2 separate regions of the Homo sapiens genome follow, and region 2 is linked to region 1. The links are contacts of gene promoters, found by promoter capture Hi-C in human tissues and cell types (Jung and others, 2019). All regions are on one chromosome and are shown on one strand. Each heading gives the region's core, a stretch centred on a gene start or on the middle of the fragment in contact. The rest is flanking DNA. Distances are from core to core; before and after follow the strand shown.

What was found. The method cuts DNA at HindIII sites, captures the fragments that hold promoters and counts their contacts. A contact is called where the count stands out against the background at its distance.
Region 2: a fragment that was not itself captured here is called in contact with the fragment with the promoter of CNTN6 in region 1 in 1 of the 25 tissues and cell types used here (H1 embryonic stem cells).

What each region holds. Positions count from the first base shown.
Region 1 is chr3:1,088,824-1,094,497 of GRCh38, forward strand. CNTN6 (contactin 6) reads left to right here and starts at 4,201. Exons shown (of 23, transcript NM_001289080.2): 1 at 4,201-4,297. The HindIII fragment of the contact is 3,264 bases long and covers 3,203-5,674 here.
Region 2 is chr3:896,974-903,366 of GRCh38, forward strand. The region is part of intron 2 of LOC107986059 (a long non-coding RNA gene); the gene reads left to right. Among named protein-coding and RNA genes, the nearest start is that of CNTN6, 190 kb to the right of the region's middle. The HindIII fragment of the contact is 4,490 bases long and covers 300-4,789 here.

The DNA.
Region 1 (5,674 bases), core at 2,951-5,450:
AATTTCTGGCTTTTTATTGCTAACTTGTATTACAATTATGCATTCACCACAATTTGTTTATCCATTAACCTGTTGATGGACATCAGTGTTGTTTCCAACTTTTGGCTGTTATAAAAAAAATTTGCTATAAAATTTCCTTGCAAAAATTTCTGTGGACATATGCTTTCATTTCTTTTGGGTGAATACATAAGAGCGGGGTTTCTCAGTAATATTACTTTAAGAGTGCCAGCTTGTTTTACGAAGTAATTGTAGCACTTTATATTTCTACCAGCAAGGTATGAGTTCCAATTGTCCCACATACTCAAAATCTTTTGGAATTTTCAATGTTTTTATTTTATTTTATTTTATTATTATTATCATTATTATTTTGAGATGGTGCTCACTCTGTTGTCCAGGCTGGTGCACAGTGGCACAAACACGGCTTACCACAGCCTCCATCTCCCGGGCTCAGGTGATGCTCCCACCTTAACCTCCTGACTAGCTAGGACTACAGGCACCTGTCACCACGCCTGGCTAATTTTTTGTATTTGTTGTAGAGATGGGGTTTCACCATGTTGCCCAGGTTGGTCTCAAGCTCCTGGGCTTCAGCTGTCTGCCCACCGTGTCCTCCCAAAATGCTAGCATTACAGCTGTGAGCCACCAGTCCCAGACTGAATTTTCAGTGGTTTTCATTTGAGCCTGTTTGATTAGTGTCTAGTAGCTGTGTCTTGCGGTTTTGATTGGCATTTTTAAAATAATGATGTTGAGCATCATTTTAATGGGCTTAAATGTCATTTGGATATCTTTGCTAAAAATGTTCATTTTTTTTTCATTTTCTAATGGGTTGCTTATTTTTTTGTTATTGAGGTGTAAAAATTTCTTAATGATATATTTCAAAAATCAGTCTTTTTAAATTTAATGAAGTCCAATATTTCTATTTATTCTTTATGTTCTGTGTTTTTATGTGTGTGTATGCACATGAGTTTTAAGAAATCTTTGCTTAATCCTAGGACTCATACATTTTCTTTCAGAAGTTTTTTTTTTTTTCAACTTTTATTTTAAGTTCGGGGTACATGTGCAGGATACGCAGGTTTTACGTAGGTAAACGAGTGCCATGGTGGTTTACTGCACAGATCATCACATCACCTGGGTATTAAGCCCAACATTCATTAGCTATTCTTCCTGATACTCTCCCTCCTCCCACCCGCCACGATGGGTACCAAGATGTGTGTTGTTCCCCCTCCATGTGTCCATGTGTTCTCATCATGCAGCTCCCACTTATAAGTGAGAATATGTGGTGTTTGGTTTTCTTCCAGAAAATTTAATGCTGTACCTTTAAGTGTGTGACCTATTTCACGTTAGCTTTTTGTGTGTGGTACGAGGTAAGGATTAAGGTTAACTTTTTTACAAATGAATATTCATTTGTTCAAGCACCATTTCTTGAATTATGATGCCTTTATCATTGAATTACCTGATAACTCTGTCTAAAATCCATTCACCTAAAATCGGCACATATCCATTAGCACAATATCCATTGAATTACCTGATACCTTTGTCTAAAATCCACTGTATATGTGCTGATCTGTTTTTGAACACTTAATTATGTTTTGTTGACCTATCCTGCCAACATCACACCGTCTTTATCGCTCTATTACTAGTAGTAAATTGTAAAAATCACAGGATATGTCTGCCAACTTTGTTTATCATTCGATTTTACTTTCTTGGTTAATTTTATTGCTACATAAATTTTAGCCTCATTTGATGATTGCTACAAGAAAATCTCCTGATATTTTCACTGAGATTATTTTAAAGCTAAAAACCTATTGGGAGATAATTGACTTCTTAAAAATATTGAGTGTTTTTGACCCATGAATGTGGCATATTTCTTTACTTATTTAGGTCTTAATTAATTTTCCTTAGTAATTCTGTGTAGCCTGTAGTGTACAGACCTTGTTTTAGATCCTTGATACCCACACCTCCTCCCCCAGTGTTTAAAAATTAATAAAATGAGAAGATATCAGCAAAGGGATCTGAGAAGGAGCAGGTAGTAAACGAGAAGAAAATTTAAGAAATTAAGCAAAAGCAATGCTTAAAGGAGGAGTACTTGGTAAACTGTATTACTTGTGAGTGATACATCAAGTAAAATTAGGACTAAGTTGACCATTGCATTATTCTATGCGTAATTTAATATTGACTATGACCAGAAACACTTATGTGGAACAGTGGGGACAAAAGACTAATCAAAGCAGATTCAAGATAAAATGAGAAAAGATGAATGGAGACAGTAAGTACAGAGAATTCCTTCAAGGTGTTTTACTATAAACAGAAGCAAGGAAATGCAGTAGTAGACAGAGGAAGACGGTATGTTAAAGGGGTGCTGATTTTTAAAATGGGCCAACTAGCAGCAAATCTCTTTGTTGTGATGCTACAGAAGGTAGGGAGAGTTGATGATTCCACAGAGAGAGACAAGTGGGTAGAATGGTCCCTTGAGTAGAAGACTATCTAAAGCACAGGTGGATGGCTTGGTCTAAGGAGGGAGCACGGTTCACCTCAAGTAACAAGATGAAGGGAGAGTCTGTGGTCACAGGGGCCAAGTATGTGACTAGATGTAGTGACAGGAGCTTATTGAAGTTTTCTTCTGGTTCTTATTCCTTTTTGGGTAAAATAGAAAGCAAAGCAATCAGCTGTCCTTGAATATGAGTCAGACTGTTGGAGATTTGAGTAAAGGGATATTCTTTAAGCTTGAATGAATTTCTTTCCACAAAAAAAAAATAAAGCCTACTACATAATGATTATTTTTCTTAAAACTCTGCAGAAAAAGTCATCTTGGCATTTTTACAAATAAAATATATTTTTATTCCTACAGAGCAAGAAATACTTCTATTTTTTTTAAAAAAAAAAAAAAGAGGCAATAAAAACAGATATTCTTTCTATAAAATTATTAGTCTAGTTTGCCTTCTTATGAATTGGGAGAAACAATAGGGTAGCCCATTTTGAGTTTACCTTGTGTTAGGAAGCATCATCTCCTTTCTAAAGCCTCTTATAATGTTGGTTAGACCCTGTGAAGAAATCCATAGGACATAGTCATAAAATGTAGTCATAGAAACCTTCTTGCTCATCAGATGAAAGTAAACTGAGGCCAAGAAATATCTTTTGACTTATTTCCATTTGATTTGGGGATTTCATTTTCTCAGTATCCACTTACTTTAAGATGCTAAGAGTATAATTTCTTTGTATGCCAACATGAAAATAAGTCCAAACTATCATTCTTTTCTCATGTTATAGTTATGTTTGTATGCACTAGAGTCTCAGTGTGCATGTATGTGTAATTCCTATTCCTTAGTTTTCATCCTTCAAGCAGTTAGTCCCTTCAAAACCCGATGACAAGACCCAAACATATTAAAAAGTTTAGTTGGAGGGCCCAGGGTGAAACACAAAAACAATTCTTCTTCTTACAGAGCTCTTAGGCAAACACATAGACACTTGTTCTCTGCCTCTGGAATTACAAATATGTTACTCGGAAAGCAGCAATACTCTTTTGGACTTGTTTGACTTCACTTTCTTTACCTGTCTTTAAGAAGCCTCATACACACATTTAAAAAATACAACTTATAAAGGTTTTAGTGATAGTGCATACAATCATTTGATTTTATTTCCCTTTTCTCTTCACCTTCACTAATAGGAGTTACTGGCATGCTTCAAAAAGCTTACATTTGAATACTGTCTAAATCAGTGCAGACCCTTGACCAGCTTAATCTTTGCTTGCAAATGACAATGCAGTGAAACCAGAGGAAGAAAAAAATTACTTCCTTTCCTGTTGGAAACCTAATAAGTAGTTAGTCTGACCCAGTTTTCAATAAGAGAGATTTTCTGATGACCCGACAGGAGTGACTATCTCCAGTCAAAGAAAGAGGAGGGTGAATTTAATCTTTCATGGCCCTGGAATGGCAGCTGCTCTCAGCTCTCTCTGATTCTGTGAAGGTTGATGAAGATAGAGCTGGCTTTCAATGTAGAAAGAATTTTCCTTTTGAATATTCCAAACGAGAGCTTTGCACATGTGCCTCAAGAACTGATTGTCTGGCTCCGACAGGAATGCAGCAGGAGAGGAGCGTATTTCATGCTTAAGACCAGAGAAGAGCCACGCAATACTCAGTGGATAAAAGGCTTGCAGTCCCAGCTGGGAAAAAGAGTCCCATTATCTCCCAGCTGCATAGACATTCCATACGGCTTGGTTCTGCCTGGACGCACAGCATGCCTGGCTGAGAGCTTGAAACAGAGTTCTGCAGAAAAACTGTAAAGATCCCGAGACATTTCCCTGGTAAGATCTGTAAGTACAAAATTGTGCTGTGTCTGCTGCAATGAGAATATTGCTGGGCAAGCTGCAGCTTTTCTTCCTTTCAATGTCTTTGTATTAGCATAACAGGTAAAAGCTGGGGTTGGGGGAGAAGTCACTGCTTTATTGATGCTGTGTTTCTATGATGCTGATGTTTAAAATGCATTTATTCCTTGTGTGGGAGAAATGTATTGAATCTGTATTCCGGGAGGTTAGGATCAAACCAGGGAAAGAAAGACTACAGGTATATTTCTCAGTGTTTCACTAGTCTTTGCTGCAGTAAAACTAATGGGCAAGACGGGATGACAGTGCTAATTCTGGGACTTTCAGATGGCTACACGCCCTTTCTGTAACGGCAGATGGGAAAATGTGATCGCTAAATGTTTTTTGTCTTTTTTTTTTTTTTAATCAAAGGGATGAGGGGTGGGGTTTGCAGTTCTCACCGGATGATTTAAAAGAATGGTTATAAAGTTTCCTAGGGGAGAATTTGGTAAGGGGAGCAAAGCAAGACTGGAGGTCATATGGGCTCACCAAATTTTGTCTGGCATTTTGCTTTATACCCAGCTTCTAGATAACAGCCTCTGGAGTTTCCTTTACCATTTACACCAGTTAAGTTGTCAGTATTAAGGTTCTTATAATACTTTATGAAAACTTTCAGAAGTTGATGACTTGGGAACAAAACTTTTAAGAGCTCTGAGATTAGCCACGTATAACCCATTATGTTAATGGGATACTGTAACATTGGGGTTTGGGGGGAAAATTGGAATTCATAGTTTTTGCTTCTCCAAATGAAAACTACTTATGTTTAAATAATCAGCATCCTGACTATGTCCTCTGAGAAACATTCACAGAATGACTAAATAGAAGTTATACTGAGAAAAAATAGAGTGAACAGTAGAATCACACAGAATCAATTTGGAAAATGAGGTATTCATAATTTTATCTACAGTGGCAATGTTTTCTGAAGATGTCTGTAAAAGAAGAAGCATATGCTGAATATTGAATTGCTTGTTTTGAGCAATTTTCATTTATCTGATGGGTTTATCATCTTTTTATTTTTGTTGTTGAAGGTTTCACCAATTTATGTGCATTGTATTTTATAAGGAAAGAAATGTTTAAGCAGACTCTTTTTCCCTCCTCCTTCACACACATGTGTAAACATACGCATGTTCACAAAACAAACATAAACATACAAAAATACTTACACAATTTGTGTAAAAAAAAAGAAATACAGAAGCATTTCATCTTTGATGTTTCAGTGGGGTTTCTTTTTCTTTTTTTAAGCAATAATCATGGCTGTGCAGTCCAAAGATTTCAAATATATAAATGTGGAAACTTTTATATAAAGCTTTATGTGAGGTT
Region 2 (6,393 bases), core at 1,295-3,794, 190 kb before region 1:
GTGCCTGTGTTAGTTTGCTGAGAATGACGGCATCCAGCTTCATCCATGTCCTGGCAAAGGACATGAACTCATTCTTTTTTATGGCTACATAGTATTCCATGGTGTATATGTGCCACATTGTTCTTTATTCAGTCTATCATTGATGGGCATTTGGGTTGGTTCAAGTGTTTGCTATTGTAAATAGTGTTGCAATAAACATACATGTGCATATGTCTTTATAGTAGAATGATTTATAATCCTTTGGCTATATACCCAGTAATGGGATTGCTGGGTCAAATGGTATTTCTGGTTCTGGATCCTTGAGGAATCACCACACTGTCTTCCACAATGGTTGAACTAATTTACACTCCCACCAACAGTGAAAAAACATTCCTATTTCTCCACATCCTCTCCAGCATCTGTTGTTTCCTGACTTTTTAATCACCATTTAAACTGGTGTGAGATGGTATCCCATTGAGGTTTTGATTTGCATTTCTCTAATGACCAGTGATGATGAGCTTTTATTCATATGTTTGTTGGCTGCATAAATGTCTTCTTTTGAGAAATGTCTGTTCATATCCTTGGCCCACTTTTGGATGAGGTTGCTTGATTTTTCTTGTAAACTTGTTTAAGTTCCTTGTAGATTCTGGATATTAGACTTTTGTCAGATTGGTGGCTTGCAGAAATTTTCTCCCATTCTGTTAGTTGCCTGTTCACTCTGATGATAGTTTCTTTTGCTGTGCAGAAGCTCTTTAGTTTGATTAGATCCCATTTGTCAATTTTGGCTTTTGTTGCAATTGCTTTTGGTGTTTTAGTCATGAAGTCTTTGCTCATGCCTATGCAGATAGGACAAATTTTTAAAAAATTCATAGAATAGTCCATTTAAACTCAAATAGTTCAGCTATTACATTAAGTTAATATGGACAAAATCCTGCAATTCGTAGGCAAACAATTTAAAATTGAATACTGAAACAAAATGTAACTGTGTTCTGCTGATAAGAGATGTGTCTTTAATACAAAAATAAGAAAGACTGAAAGTAGAATTACGGAACATGATAAACCTAATCAAAACAAAGCTTGTAATTCTAAAGAAACTATACTGAAAAGCAAGAAATATTTATACATAAAGTTTGAAATTTTATAATGATAAAAAGATAAAACAACAGAAAAAGATGACAAAAATAACTTTGTAAGCATTTAATAACCTAATCTCAAAATGAATAAAACAAAAAAGTACAAAATAAATAAACAATAGAAGAAAAATAATGAATAGCTACATTTACAGTCATAGTTGAATAATGCAGTTTTTCTCAGTAACTAAAGAATAAGCAAAAGATGATTGGATAAATTAAATATGTTATATACATATAATGAAATATAATTTTGCAATAAAAATAAATGAAGTATTGATACATATTACATTAAACATAAATTCAACTTGAAAACTAAGTGAAAATCCAGTCACACCCTAGACAAAAACTTACAAAAAGATATTGTAAAATTCCATTTTTATATAATGTATGTAATAAGTAAGTTCATGGAGTTAGAAAGTATTTTGGTGCTTGCCTGGGACTGATAGATGAAGGTGGGGGAATAATGAGAATGACTGCTGATGAGGACAAGTGTTTCCTTTTAAAGTGATACAAATGTTCCAGAGTTTGATGATGGTTGCACAAATGTGTGAATGCAATAAAAACCACTGAATTATACACTTTATTTGATAAATTATAAATTATTTATCCATAAAACTGCAAAAATGATTTTTTAACTAAAACTTGCATTCAATCTCATCCACCTGTAAATGGCATTAAAATTATTTTCAGTTCAGTATATTCTAGACCAGTGGTTTTCAACCAAGCCTAACTTTGTCTCACAAGGAACATTCGTAATGTCCGAAGACATATTTGATTGTAACAGTAGAGGTGGAGTGGGTATTTGCATTAACTAGGTAGAAGCCAGAAATACTAGTAAAAATCTTACAGTAGGTAAGACAGCTTTCAACCAAAACAATACAAAACAAAACATGTAACTGCCCCAAAATATCAATAGTGCAAAGGTTAACAAGCCCTCTTTTAGAGACATTGATCTCTATTCCTATATAATTTTTAAGCCTCATGGTAATAGAGTCTATCTTGGAATGTGAATGAAGCATAATGTAAACATTACAAGCAACAACATGTCACATTTTTAGAATTTACATCATTCAGAATACCCCTTAGTATCACCTGACCCCAAAGCTTAGAATGATTTTGCCAATTTTGCAAATATGAAAACTTAGATTATGTTATTCTTTTTCTAATGGGCCAAGAAAGGTATAACACTACACTGTCACTTTTTTTTTACTTCTATACTAATTACTTTCTGAATATATATAGATATCTAATCTATCTATCTATCTATTCTTTTACCACTTAAAAATATTATTTTAATCTGTTTAAAACTAAGGCCTAGCATTAAGAGATATACCTAATGCTAAATGACAAGTTAATGGGTGCAGCACACCAACATGGCACATGTATACATATGTAACAAACCTGCACGTTGTGCACATGTACCCTAAAACTTAAAGTATCATAATAATAAAATTAAAAAAAAAACTAAGGCCTAAAAATAAGAAGTGCTATTTTGTCTGACAGCAAAATAAATAAGTAGTTTTTAAAATAGTAAGCTGAAGTTTAATAATTATGTTAAAATTATAGTAACTTTTTTCTGCAGTAATTATTTTTGATAAAAATTAATGCAATTACATGACATAAAATTAAGATATAGTTTAGTAAGAAAAACACAAAACAATAACCATTGTAGAATGAAAATAAGTTTTAATATATGAAAGACTTAAGAATCCTTTAATACATTAAACTGACTGATACTAGTGTTCTTTGCTGAATCATAGGTAACATATTTATTGATTTTTAAAATAGGGTTAGCGTAGAATAAATGAAATTTATAATTTAATAGTCATCAACTTCACATTCATTTTGCATACCACAGGAGAAAAAAAGAGGCTCAGAAAGATTAAGTTCTAAGGATAATTGATTTTAAAATTGGGGCCAGAATTAGGACTCAAACGCATATTTTCTGAGGTCTAGCCCTTTGTATATTACACCCTTGCTGAAGACTAAATTCGAGTGTGTGTCTTATTGGCAGTGAGAAGGCAGATTTGCCAATATGTAGTTTCTAAATCTTGCATTTATTTCTATACATTTTAAATTTAATTTAGAAATAGAACAGGGAGAGTAATGTTAGCAAGATGGTCAATCAGAGTTGTTTGGCACTCATCCCCACAAAAAGGGTTGTGGGGTTCCCCTCCAACATAACAAATGAACAACTATATTTCAGTGGAAGTTACTGAGGAAGTATGCTGGGGAACATAAGGGGAGTGAAAAAATCCCTGTGAAGCACAGAAACTCAGGATAGAACCATAAAAGAAGAGGGAGACACACAAACTCTACCAAATTGTTCCCTCACTGGGATTGGCTCATAGCCAGGAGGGGCTACTGCTTATCGAGAAAAGGTAAGCTGGAGACACCAGTTGTCCCCATTACTACTGCAGATGCCTGCAGGCTGCTACGGGAGGGTCCTGCAAGCCTCACAGTCAACAAATTCTATCTGGGGAGCTTTCTGGAGTTCACATAGCTGTGTTGCCCTATACTAGGAGCCCATTTCGTATACCCACCAACTCCCGTGACCTAAGTTGGAACTGCATAGTACCATCCTGAAACCAGACTGACTGCTAGAGTATGTCCTACTCTGGGGGCCAGTAGCCACTGTGTCTCTCCATCCCTGAGGCCCCAGCATCATTCCACCATGCTCACAAGGAAGGCCACAGAACTACAACCCCAGCTACTTTAAGCTTAGGCCCAGTGGAATGGCCCAAATCCATGCAACATCCCCTCCTCCCTGGGAAACAGGCATATCTGCACAGCAAGAAAGCCAACAAGCAGCTGATTGGCCTGTGGTGCCTGTGTGCCTGACCCAACAGGAAGGATGGCAGCAGCCCCACCCATTGAAGAACCCACCTCAGAGTTGGCCAGCCCACTATACCTATGTAAGCCATGCCTGACAGCCAGACTAGGGGTGGCCCTGCAGCCCTGGAAAGTCCACTACATAGCCAGCTGGCCCACCATGCAAGTCTGTCTAAACAGTGAGGCTGGTAGCGTTGCCCCTAACAAAACTGAGCCATTACAATCACAAACTCCTGTAGCCTAGGCCACTGATGAAATTGCAGACATCATTGATGAGAATTATAGCTAATGAAACTGCAGAGAACCACACAGAACCAAAGATAATGGATCATACTCAACTGACATCCTAGACACACCTATAGGAAAAAGTCTCTCCTTACAAAAGTTAGCCCGTAAAGTTGGAAAAGATAACTGTTCCACCAGATATGCAGATATCAATGCAGAGATATAAGAAACATGAAAAAGTAAGGAAACATGACATTTCCAAAGGAAAATAATAATTCTACATTAACAGCCCCCCATAAAAAAATTTATGCAATTCCTGGAATTTAAAATAATGATTCTTTTTAAACTATGAGATATAAGAGAATATGGACAAACAATTCAATGAAATAAGAAAAATAATTTATTATCTGAATGAGAAATTCAACAGAGGGACAGATATAAAAAAAGAACAAAACAGATATCTTGGAGCTGAAGAATTCAATGAATAAAAGAAGTACAACTGAGAGGTTTAACAACATACTAGCCATTTTGGCAGCATATGTATTTATGATTTGTATAGAAGAAACAGTTTCTAAATTTGAAGACAGTTCTTTTAAAGTAACCTAATTAGAGGGGAGAAAAAGTAAACAAAAATAAAAAGCAATAAAGAAAGTCTACTTATGGGACACCATTAAGTGAATGAATATTTGCATTATAAGAATGCCAGAGGGAGAAGATATAAAGAAAGGCAGAAATATTGAAATAGTATGTGGAAACTTCCCAGTCTTAGCAAACATATGAACAACCAGATTTAGAAACTCTAAGACTCCCAATTAGATTACAACAAAAATGATCTACTCCAAGGTACATTATAATCCATCTATCAAAAGTCAAAGACAAGGCAAGAATTCTGAAAACTGAAATGGAATAGTGTCAAGTCACATATAAGAGAATTCTATTATACTGTCAGCAGATCAATCATTAGAAACCTTGCAGCCCAGTAGAGAATGGTATGACATATTCAAAGTGCTGAAAGAAAAAAAAAATACTGGCAACCAAGAATACTATATCAGCGAAGCTGTCCTTCAGCAATGAAGGAGAAATAAAAACCTTCCCAAATAAGCAAAATCTGAGGGAATTCATCACCACTACACTAGTCTTTACAGAAATGCTTAAGATGATAGTGCTACAACTGAAAGTGAAGATAATTACTATTATGGAAACACATGAAAATATAAAACTCACCAGTAGAGGGCAGCTCATAACCAAAATCAGAATATCCCAGTGCTATAATAGTGCTATGTCAATCTTTTAATCTTCTGATATAAAGTTTAAAAACCAAAGGGGTCAAAAAACAACTTCTACAATTAGTCATTAAGAAAAACAATAGATAAAGACACACATTAAGGCAACAAATATATAAATTACAGGGAGGGGTCAGGAAAAAATGTCTAGAGTATTTTTATGTGACCAAAATTAAGTTGCTCTCATCTTAGAATAGTCGATTATAACTACAAGAACCTTTATGTTAGCTTCATGGTATCCACAAAGAAAGAAATTACAACAGGTACACAAATGAGAAAGGGAAAGGAAGCAAAGCTTAGCACAGCAGAAAACCACCCAGCCATAGTAGTAAATAATAAAAGAGAAAAAAAGAACAAAGAGTCTATACAACAATCAGAAAACAATTAACAAAATGTCAAGGGCAATTCATTGCCTCTCAATAATAACCTTAAATGTAAATGGATTAAATTCTTCAATTTAAAGATTGCATTGTTGAAAGGATTTTGAAAAACTAAGAACCAACTGTATATTGCGTACAAGACACTCACTATTAAAGATAAACCCAGACTGAAAATGAGAGGATAAACAAAGATACTCCATGGAAAAGAAAACCAAAAGCAAAAGGAGTGGCCATATTTATGTTAGATAAAGTACACTTTAAGTCAAAAACTGTAAAAAGAGACAAAGAAGGTCATTATATTTAATAAAGGGAGAAATTCAACAAAAGGATATACCAATGATAAATATATATGCACACAACACCAGAGTGTCTAAATACATAAAGCAAATATCAGATCTAAAGGGAGAGATAGACTACAATGCAATAATCACAGGAAATTTCAACTTCCCACTTTTAACAATAGATAGGTTGTCTAGATATAAAATCAGCAAAGAAACATCAAACTTAAGCTCCACCATAGTCAAAATGAATCTAACATATACTTACAGAACATTCCCTCCA